Regions from separate parts of the Homo sapiens genome. Here all the other regions are linked to region 2. Evidence: promoter capture Hi-C in human tissues and cell types (Jung and others, 2019). All regions are on one chromosome and are shown on one strand. The core of a region is centred on a gene start or on the middle of the fragment in contact, and the rest is flanking DNA. Distances in the headings are between cores, read along the strand shown.

The links. The method cuts DNA at HindIII sites, captures the fragments that hold promoters and counts their contacts. A contact is called where the count stands out against the background at its distance.
Region 1: a contact is called between a fragment that was not itself captured here and the fragment with the promoter of PALM3 in region 2, in 9 of the 25 tissues and cell types used here (IMR-90 fibroblasts, aorta, bladder and 6 more).
Region 3: a contact is called between a fragment that was not itself captured here and the fragment with the promoter of PALM3 in region 2, in 1 of the 25 tissues and cell types used here (spleen).

Annotation. Positions count from the first base shown.
Region 1 is chr19:13,909,772-13,912,950 of GRCh38, reverse strand. It overlaps CC2D1A (coiled-coil and C2 domain containing 1A), which reads right to left. Exons shown (of 29, transcript NM_017721.5): 2 at 2,993-3,128; 3 at 513-628; 4 at 358-423. Among named protein-coding and RNA genes, the nearest start is that of CC2D1A, 5.2 kb to the right of the region's middle. The HindIII fragment of the contact is 5,078 bases long and covers 1-3,179 here.
Region 2 is chr19:14,060,416-14,063,714 of GRCh38, reverse strand. PALM3 (paralemmin 3) reads left to right here and starts at 1,639. Exons shown (of 7, transcript NM_001145028.2): 1 at 1,639-1,775. The coding sequence starts at 1,735. RefSeq lists an enhancer at 1,144-1,698. The HindIII fragment of the contact is 26,422 bases long and covers 1-3,299 here.
Region 3 is chr19:14,272,475-14,275,703 of GRCh38, reverse strand. No RefSeq gene overlaps it. Among named protein-coding and RNA genes, the nearest start is that of LINC01842, 60 kb to the left of the region's middle. The HindIII fragment of the contact is 5,931 bases long and covers 1-3,229 here.

The DNA.
Region 1 (3,179 bases), core at 316-2,815, 150 kb after region 2:
GGGTGGGCCAGGCGCGGTGGCTCACGCCTGTAATCCCAACACTTTGGGAGGCCAAGGCAGGTGGATCACTTGAGGTCAGGACCAGCCTGGCCAACACAGAGAAACACCATCTCTACCAAAAAATACAAAAATTAGCCAGGCGTGGTGGCACACACCTGTAATCCCAGCTACTGGGGAGGCTGAGGTGGGAGGATCCCTTGAACCTGGGAGGCAGAGGTTGTAGTGAGCTGAGATGGCACCACTGCACTCCAGCCTGGGTGACACAGCAAGACTCCATCTCATAAAAAAGGCTAGGTCTTGAACCCCGGGCTGTCCGTTGGGTTGTGGTTCAAGGGAGTGGAGTCATCCAAACTGTACCTGGGCCACAGGAGGTGGGGTCTCTGAAGCCTTCTGCTCCTCTCCAAGGACCTCATTTAGCTCCGCCTGCAGGGACACACAGCCAGGGCAGGATATAAGGGCCTGCTGGATGGGGGCAACCGGATCAGAGCCCCCACCCCGCCCTCAGTGCTCACCAGCAGGTCATCATCAGCCTCCAAGTCGTCCTCATCCGTCCCCTCCTCCTCATCCTCATCCGGGTCTCTCATGCACAGGCTGGCCATCTTCTCAATGGCCTCCATCGGCAAGGGACCTGGCGGTAGGGGGATGCCCCAGGTGGACCAGGGTCGTACACCAAGAGCCCCCATTTCCCATCCTGGACACGCTAGGTGATCCCACTTCTCGCTGACTTCCCCATTTCATCTCTTCCTTATTCAGCCTCAGGTCTGGGGCCTGGCTACCTGAATTCAAAACCCAGCTCTGCAGACCGGGCACAGTGACTCACGCCTATAATCCCAGCACTTTGGGAGGCCGAGGCAGAAGGATCACTTGAAGTCAGGCGTTCAAGACCAGCCTGGCCAACATGGTGAAACCCTGTCTCTACTAAAAATACAAAAATTAGGCTGGGCGCAGTGGCTCACGCCTGTAACCCCAGCACTTTGGGAGGCCGAGGCGGGTGGATCACAAGGTCAGGAGATCGAGACCATCCTGGCTAACACGGTGAAACCCCGTCTCTACTACAAATACAAAAAATTAGCCAGGCATGCTGGCGGGCGCCTGTGGTCCCAGCTACTCGGGAGCCTGAGGCAGGGGAATGGCGTGAACCTAGGAGGCGGAGCTTGCGGTGAGCCAAGATCGCGCCACTGTACTCCAGCCTGGGCGACAGAGCGAGACTCCGTCTCAAAAAAAAAAAAAAAAAAAAAAAAAAATTAGCTGGGCATGGTGGCGTGTAATCCCCGCTGCTAAAGAGGCTGAGGCAGGAGAATCACTTAAGCCCAGGAGGCAGAGGTCGCAGTGAGCTGAGATTGCGCCACTGCACTGCAGCCTGGGCAACAGAGCAAGGGTTTGTCTCCAAAAAAAAAAAAAAAAACACACACACACAACAACAACAAAAAAAACCCCAGCTCTGCAACTTTCTCTCTGTGAGAACTTCGGCAAGTGATGTCACCTCTCTGAGCCTCAGTTTCTCCCTCTGTGACACGGGGATGACAACAGTTCCTCCTTCATAGGTAGGTTGGAGCAGAGAAGGTCAATGAAGCTCTTAGAATAGCATATTGCCAATATCTTGTTATTAGTTATGTTACATTCTATAAAGCTGCTTTGAAGACTAAATTAATGACTATAAGACTGTTGCTCCTAGGGGAAATTTAAGCTTAGGTTCCTGTGAATCTCCAGTCATAACCTTTTTTGGAGACAGGATCTTGCTCTGTCACCCAGGCTGGAGTGCAGTGGCCCAATCAGAGCTCACTGCAGCCTCAAACTCTTGGCCTCAAGTGATCTTCCTGCCTCAGCCTCCCGAGTAGCTGGGATTACAGGCATGCACCACCACACCCAGCTCTGGTCACAAAATTTTAATCAACTGATCAATACACAACCTTGCTCTATGTGTGTTTCTGTTTGAAGACACCTTCCTGAATAGATATCGTTCATTCATTAACTTTGAATTCACAGCCAACAGCACAGTAGTTCATGCCTGAATGAAGCTTCTCTCTTTTTTGTTTTTTGGAAACAGGATCTTGCTCTGTCACCCAGGCTGGAGTGCAGTGGCGCAATCTCTGCCCACTGCAACTGCTGCCTCCTGGATTCAAGCGATTCTCATGCCTCAGCCTCCCAAGTAGCTGGGATTACAGGTGTTCGCCACCAAGCTTGGCTAATTTTTGTATTTTTAGTAAAGACAGGGTTTCACCATGTTGGCCAGGCTGGTCTCGAACTCCTGGCCCCAAGTGATCTGTCCACCTTGGCCTCCCAGAGTGCTGGGATTACATGCATGAGCCAATGTGCCTGGCTGACATGAGCTTATTGTGTGTGAGGGGGCCCTGGGTGAAATACTTATGGACTCCAGATTAACTCCTATAACATGGTTATTATTCCAGTTTTACAGATGGTGAAACTGAGGCCAAAGCACATGATGTGACTCATCAAGTCACATAACCAGTAAGTGGCAGAGCTCGGATTCCAACTCTCAGTCTCGGTCCAGACTTGATCTTTTTTTTTTTTTTTTTTTTTTTGAGACGGAGTCTTGCTCTGTCGCCCAGGCTGTAGCGCAGTGGTGCGATCTCGGCTCACTGCAAGCTCCGCCTCCCTGGTTCACGCCATTCTTCTGCCTCAGCCTCCTGAGTAGCTGGGACTACAGGCGCCCGCCACCACGCCCGGCTAATTTTTTTTTTTTTTTTGTATTTTTAGTAGAGACAGAGTTTCACCGTGTTAGCCGGGATGGTCTCAATCTCCTGACCTCATGATCTGCCTGCCTCGGCCTCCCAAAGTGCTGGGATTACAGGCGTGAGCCACCGTGCCCGGCCTCAGAGTCGATCTTGACTCTCTTACCCAGATCATTGGCTCCAGGAGAACAGGGGTCTTCTCTGTCTTCTTTCCCCTACCTACCCAGTGCCCCCAGTTCTGCGCCCGAACCACTTGCAGGAGATCAGAAAATGTTCTGAGGGTGTGTTAACCATCTCACCTTTGCCTTTGAGCTTCTCCAGGGCTGGGGGCTGGCCCCCGACCAAAGCCAAGAACTCAGCCTCCAGTTCTTCATCGTTAGCCCCGTCCTCAGGGATCATCAGGCCATCTGGGGAGAGGTCAACCAGCAGGCCCAGCTAGGGGAACAGCAAGGGTTCAGTCAGACCTTTGGTTCACCACATGGCTAG
Region 2 (3,299 bases), core at 390-2,889:
CGCCTGTAATCCCAGCAGTTTGGGAGGCCAAGGAGGATGGATCACCTGAGGTCAGAAGTTCAAGACCAGCCTGGCCAACATGGTGAAACCCTGTCTCTACAAGAATACAAAAATTAGCTGGGCGTGATGGCGGGTGCCTGTAATCCCAGCTACTTGGGAGGCTGAGGCAGGAAAATTGCTTGAACCCAGCAGGTGGAGGTTGCAGTGAGCCAAGATTGTGCCCATCGCACTCTAGCCTGGGCGATAGAGTGAGGCTCCATCTAAAAAAACAAACAAACAAAAAAGAAAAACAAAAAGTCCAGAATAGGCAAATCCATAGAGATGGACACAGATTGGTGGTTGCCAGGCACGGGAGGCAGGGGAATGAGTAGTGATCACTTCCTTTTGGGTTGATGAAAATATTCTGAACCAGTGGTGAGGATTGCATAATATTGTGAACATACTAAATGCCACTAATGGTAAATTTTGTTATGTGTATTTTACCACGATCAAAAAGTAATTTTTTTTTTTCAGACGGAGTCTTGCTCCGTCACCCAGGCTGGAGTGCAGTGGCATGATCTCAGCTCCCTGCAATCTCCGCCTCCTGGGTACAAGCAATTCTCCTGCCTCAACCTCCCGAGTAGCTAGGACTACAGGTGTGCCACCACACCTGGCTAATGTGTATCTTTAGCAGAGGCAGGCTTTCTCCATGTTGGCCAGGCTGGTCTCAAACTCCTGACCTCGTGATCCGCCCACCTCGGCCTCCCAAAGTGCTGGGATTACAGGCGTGAGCCACCGTGCCTGGCTCAAAAAGTAATTTTTTTTTTTTTAGACAGAGTTTTGCTCTTGTTGCCCAGGCTGGAGTGCAATGGTGCGATCTTGGCTAACTGCAACCTCTGCCACCTGGGTTCAAGTGATTCTTCTGCCTCAGCCTCCCAAGTAGCGGAGGTTACAGGCATGCACCACCATGCCCGGCTAAGTTTTTTTTTGTATTTAGCAGAGACGGGGTTTCACCATGTTGGTCAGACCAGTCTCGAACTCCGCCCTCAGGTGATCCACCCACCTGGGCCTCCCAAAGTGCTAGGATTACACATATGCACCACTGTGCCTGTTCTTAAAAAATAATTTTAAAAAATGTTATCTGCCAGATGTGGTGGCTCATGCCTGTAATCCCAGCACTTTGAGAAGCCGAGGAGGGAGGATTGTTTGCGCCCCGGAGTCTGAAACTGCAGTGAGCTATGATCGCACTACTACATTTTAGCCTGGGCAACAGAGTGAGACCCCCATCTCTAAAAAAATAAAACAGTCTCCAGCCTGTGTGCTATGCAATGGTGCTCTCCTGTGGGTGAGTCTTGGCAGGCAGTCAGACTCAAGATGATTGGGGTGCCAAGTAGAAATGCCATTCTCTGGTGGCAGGGGGAGTCACCGACTCAGTACTCTCACCCCCACGCTTGACCACGCGTGTGTGAAAGTGTTTTCCGGGAGGCAGCTGAGTGCAACAAAGAGGCCAGAGGCTGGTGAATAATTTATCAGGACAGCTGATAGTACCTCCCCAGAACTGCCCTCCAGCCCCCAGCCCCCCTCTCTGGTGTGCCTACCGCCTCCCTGGCCCAAACCCGCTGGACCTGCTCTCCCGGTGCCCGCCCGCAGCCCCCCCCCACTCCAGGCAGCCAAGTCACAGCCTCCGGGGCACCTTCAGGCAAGCGGGTGGTGGGTCCAGAACTCGGAGACCAGAAAGTGAACTTCTGGGCAGAGATGGCCCTGCAGAGCCAGGTGTGGTCTCTGGCCACACCCATGTAAGTGTCTGGGGGGTCAGGGGGGCTGGTGGGCAGGGCCTTGGGAGGGGCTCATGGGGGATGCTGGCCTTGTCTGGGAGCCGAGAGCTCCAGTGGTCTCTCCTAAGGGGACCCGGGGAGTGGAGGGGTTGGCTAGCCAACCCCATAGGCTCATCAGTGTCACCCTTCCTTAAAGAGTCAAGGGGTGGGAGAGAGATATAGGCTCCCCCTGCCCCTTCCTCTTCGGGGATTTTCCGCTGCCAGGGCTGAGAACCCAAAGTCCAGCCAGGGGGTGGGGCTACTGCTGTGGTGCAGGGAGTGGGGAAGGTCAGGGTCACTGGGTTCCACGTTTTGCCCCTAAAGTCAGTGTCCAAGGTGGGAGAAAAGGCTTGAGATCCAACAGAAGTTAAAAGCTCCCAGCCTGAGAAAGACAATGGCAACATTGCAAGGATGACCTCCTTCATGAAATGGCCACCAACTCTTGCGGGTGGCCAGAAGCCCAGGCCGCCTACGTTGTTCTTCCAGAGTTAGTTAGAGATAAGCAAGATGGAATGGGGTGTGTGAAGTCTTTTCATAGCTGAGGGGTGAGAGTTTTTTAAGGTTAAAAGGGTAGAGGGGGCTTCAGAGGTTTGGAAAGAGTTTTGGAAAAGGGGCTTCCCCCCACACTAGGGACCCCAATTCGGTTCCTCACCCTTCTAGGTCCTCCATTGCATTATTCACCAACTACAAACCTGGTTGCTTAGCAATGGGAACCCGATCCCCCCCAGCAAGGAAGAGGCAGGGAGATTACATCTTGGGGGTGGTACAGGAGACCACGGGACTTCAGCCCTCCCCCAGGGGCAAACCTATAAGCACAGAATCTGGGCTTCCTTTGGGATATCTTGCAAAGCATGACTTCGTGGCCGGGCACGGTGGCTCACGCCTGTAATCCCAGCACTTTGGGAGGCCGAGGCGGGCAGATCACCTGAGGTCAGGAGTTCGAGACCAGCCTGGCCAGTATGGTGAAACCCCATCTGTACTAAAAATACAAAAATTAGCCGGGCTTGGTGGTGCACGCCTGTAATCTCAGCTACTCAGGAGGCTGAGGCAGGAGAATCACTTGAACCCAGGAAGCGGGGGTTGCAGTGAGCTGAGATTGAGCCATTGCACTCCAGCCTGGGTGACAGAGCGAGACTCCGACTCAAAAAAAGAAAGAGCATGACTTCAATTCCTTGCCCCAAACAGCATTCAGGGTCTCCAGGCTGCTCTCTTAGCTACCTTGATGGGGATTCCTAGACCTGCACCCCCACCCCCCTCGCCAGCTGTGTTCTCAGTATTTTGGATCTGATAGCTTCAAGTTCTGATCTTGGCTCCATGACCTTGGACACTGCTGCCACTTCTCAGAACCTCAGTTTTCCCATCCATAAAATGGACACATTCATATAGCTTACCTCCTAGAGTCGTTGGGAGGATTCAGTGAATTACATTGCACCTGGCACGTGTTACGGGCTAGCTAATGGTTGGCTGATTTTGTTCTTAGCTGGAATGTCAACTCAGCAAAGAGTT
Region 3 (3,229 bases), core at 636-3,135, 210 kb before region 2:
TGGGCGCAGTAGCTTACACCTGTATTCCCAGCACTTTGGGAGGCCAAGGTGGGCGGATCACCTGAGGTTAGGAGTTCGAGACCAGCCTGGTCAACATGTCAAAACCCTATCTCTACTAAGAGTACAAAAATTAGCTGAGCGTGGTGGTGGGCGCTTGTAATCCCAGCTACTCAGGAGGCTGAGGCAGGAGAACAGCTTGAATCCAGGAGGCAGACGTTGCAGTGAGCCAAGATCACGAAACTGCACTCCAGCCTGGGTGATAAGAGCGAGACTCTTTCTCAGAAAAAAGGAAAAGGAAGGGAGGGAGGGAGGGAAGGGAAGGGAAGGAGAGAGGGGGAAGAAAGAGAAAAAGAAAGAGAGAAAGAAAAGAAAGAAAGAGAAAGAGAAAAAAGAAAAGAGAGAGAAAAGAAAGGAAAGATGTGGGGATTACTGGGGGGTTTTGGATCCTGTGACTCCAGCCAAAAGCACCTGCAGGAGCTGTCCCACTTTCAAAGTCCCTTGGCCCATGACATGCAATTTTAATTGCAGAGCAAGCTCGTGCAGTTAAGTAGGGGCCTCTCACCCCATTTTACAGAGGACAAAATGGAGCCTTAGAGAAAGAACACTGACATGTTTGACTGTGTCTCCACCCAAATCGCATCTAGAATTGTAATCCCCACGTGTCGAGGGGAGGGACCTGGTGGGAGGAGATTGGATCACGGGAGCATTTCCCCCTTGCTATTCTCGTGACAATGAGTTCTCACCAGATCTGGTTGTTTGATAAGCGTCTGGCACTTCCTCTCTCTCTCTCTCTCTCTCTCTCTCTCTCTCTCTCTCTCTCTCTCTCTCTCTCTCTCTCCTCTCTCTCTCTCTCTCTCTCTCTCTCTCTCTCCCCTGCCTCCATGTACGATGTGCCTTGCTTTCCCTTCACTTTTTGTCATGATTGTAAGTTTCCTGAGGCCCCATCAGCCATGCGGAACTGTGAGTCAATTAAACCTTTTTTCTTCATAAATTACTCACTCTCACATAGTTCTTTATAGCGGTGTGAAAACAGACTAATACAGACATGTTTGCTCCAAGATCCTAGAACTAACTTATTCATTGTGGGAATGACCAAATGAAGTCAAGAGCAGAGGATGGAAAACTTTTTCCATCAAGGATCAGAATCTAAATATTTCTGTCTTTGCAGGCCACATGTTCTCGCTCTCTTTTTTTTTTTTTTTTTTTTTTGAGACGGAGTGTCACTCTTGTCACCCAGGCTGGAGTGCAATGGTGTGATCTCAGCTCACTTGCAACCTCTGCCTCCCAGGCTCAAGTGATCCTCCCGCCTCAGCCTCCAAAGTAGCTGGGATTACAGGCATGTGCCACCACACCCTGCTAATTTTTTGTATTTTTAGTAGAGATGGGCTTTCACCGTGTTGCCCAGGCTGGTCTCGAACTCCTGAGCTCAAGCGATCCGCCTGCCTTGGCCTCCCAAAGTACTGGGATTACAGGTGTGAGCCACCACGACGATCTGATGCTCCTCATTTATAGAATCCACCCTGTAACCCTCCTGGCAACAGAATCTTAGACAAGGAGTAGTTGCCAGAATTCCAGCCCCTGAAATACACAGGAAAACAAGATGTAGATAGGCTAACAGATAATCCAACACATTCAAAAAGGTGACAAATGGCAGTGTTGGCCACAGGGTTCGAAACATGCTAGAAGGAGGAATTGGAAGTGTTTTGGGCCATGGTGGAAATCCAACTCCATTCCAGATGTCCAACACAGCTTCCTTGTTCCATGAGGTCATTGCCTCCCAGTGTCTCTTTGGTTGCGTTCCTCCCCACAAAGCAATAAAAGTTGGATGACAAAGTTGAGCCCTGGTGAATGAAGGGGATATTAAAAATAAAGAATGGAGAATTGTTGGTAATAAAAGGAAATGAGCAGGACGGGGCGCTGCGGCTCACGCCTGTAATCCCAGCACTTTGAGAGGCTGAGGCAGGAGGATTGCTTGAGCCCAGGAGTTTTGAGACCAGCCTGGGCAACATAGTGAGACCCCCATCTCTACAAGCAGTAAAAAAAAAAAAATATTAGCCAGGCATGGTGGTGTGCACCTGTGGTCCCGGCTACTCTGGAGGCCGAGGATGGCTTGAGCCCAAGAGTTTGAGGCTGCAGTGAGCTATGATTGCCCCACTGCATTCCAGCCTGGAGGACAGTGAAATCTCATCTCAGAAAAAAAAAGAATAGCCAAGCATGGCGGCTCACACCTGTAATCCTAGCATTTTGGGAGGCCGAGGTGGGCATATCACCTGAGGTCAGGAGTTTGAGACTAGCCTGGCCAAAATGGTCAAACCCCGTCTCTACTGAAATACAAACAAATTAGCGGGGCGTAGTGGCACATTCCTGTAGTCCCAGCTACTCGGGAGGCTGAGGCAGGAGAATCGCTTGAATCCTGGAGGCGGAGGTTGCAGTGAACCGAGATTGCGCCACTGCACTCTAGCCTAGGTGACAAAGCGAGGCTCCATCTCAAAAAAAAAGAGAGAGAGAACGTGATGATTCTGTGATCTCTAATGAACAGAAATGAGCTGACTCCTTGAGCTGCCAGGGATGTACTAGGCATTGATTTCCAGCCTCTATGGCTGCAAGCTATGAACCCTTCATGACCTCACCTAGGTTTGTATGCAAACTGGGCCTCTGTTGTGAAACTGAGGTCAGGGTGATGGGGGTTCAGATACTTCCAAGTCACCACCACAGAAGCGGCAAACACAATAGTTGTCAATGCTTTTGGACACGCCTCCATCTGTCTCCTGCCCAGAGGAGAAAATTATCTGGGCATGGTGGCATGTGCCTGTTTCACCAGCTATGAAGTGGAGATACAATATGTAATAGTCAGATAACCTAAGTTATGCTACGTAACAAACGATCCCATACAAGGCCAGATTGTTGAACTGAAAGAGGCTGTATTTCCAGATTCAGGACATGCTGCCTGCCAATAATTTGGGAAGTAGGGCTATAAAACACACTTGATTATGGGAGGGCAGTCCTGGTTCTGTAGCAGGTCAGGGTGGTGGGGGTAGATATTTGCAAGTCCCCACTGCAGAGGCAGCAAACACACAGATGTTAATGCTTTCGCACACACCCCCATCTGTCTCTTGCTCAGAGCCCAGCTAGGAGACAGCACAGCTCCAAACCCACCCTCTCCCTGGGTCCAATCTCCTAATCTGGAAAACTCTCTTCTTTCCTTCCCTCTCCCCTGCCCCCACATTCC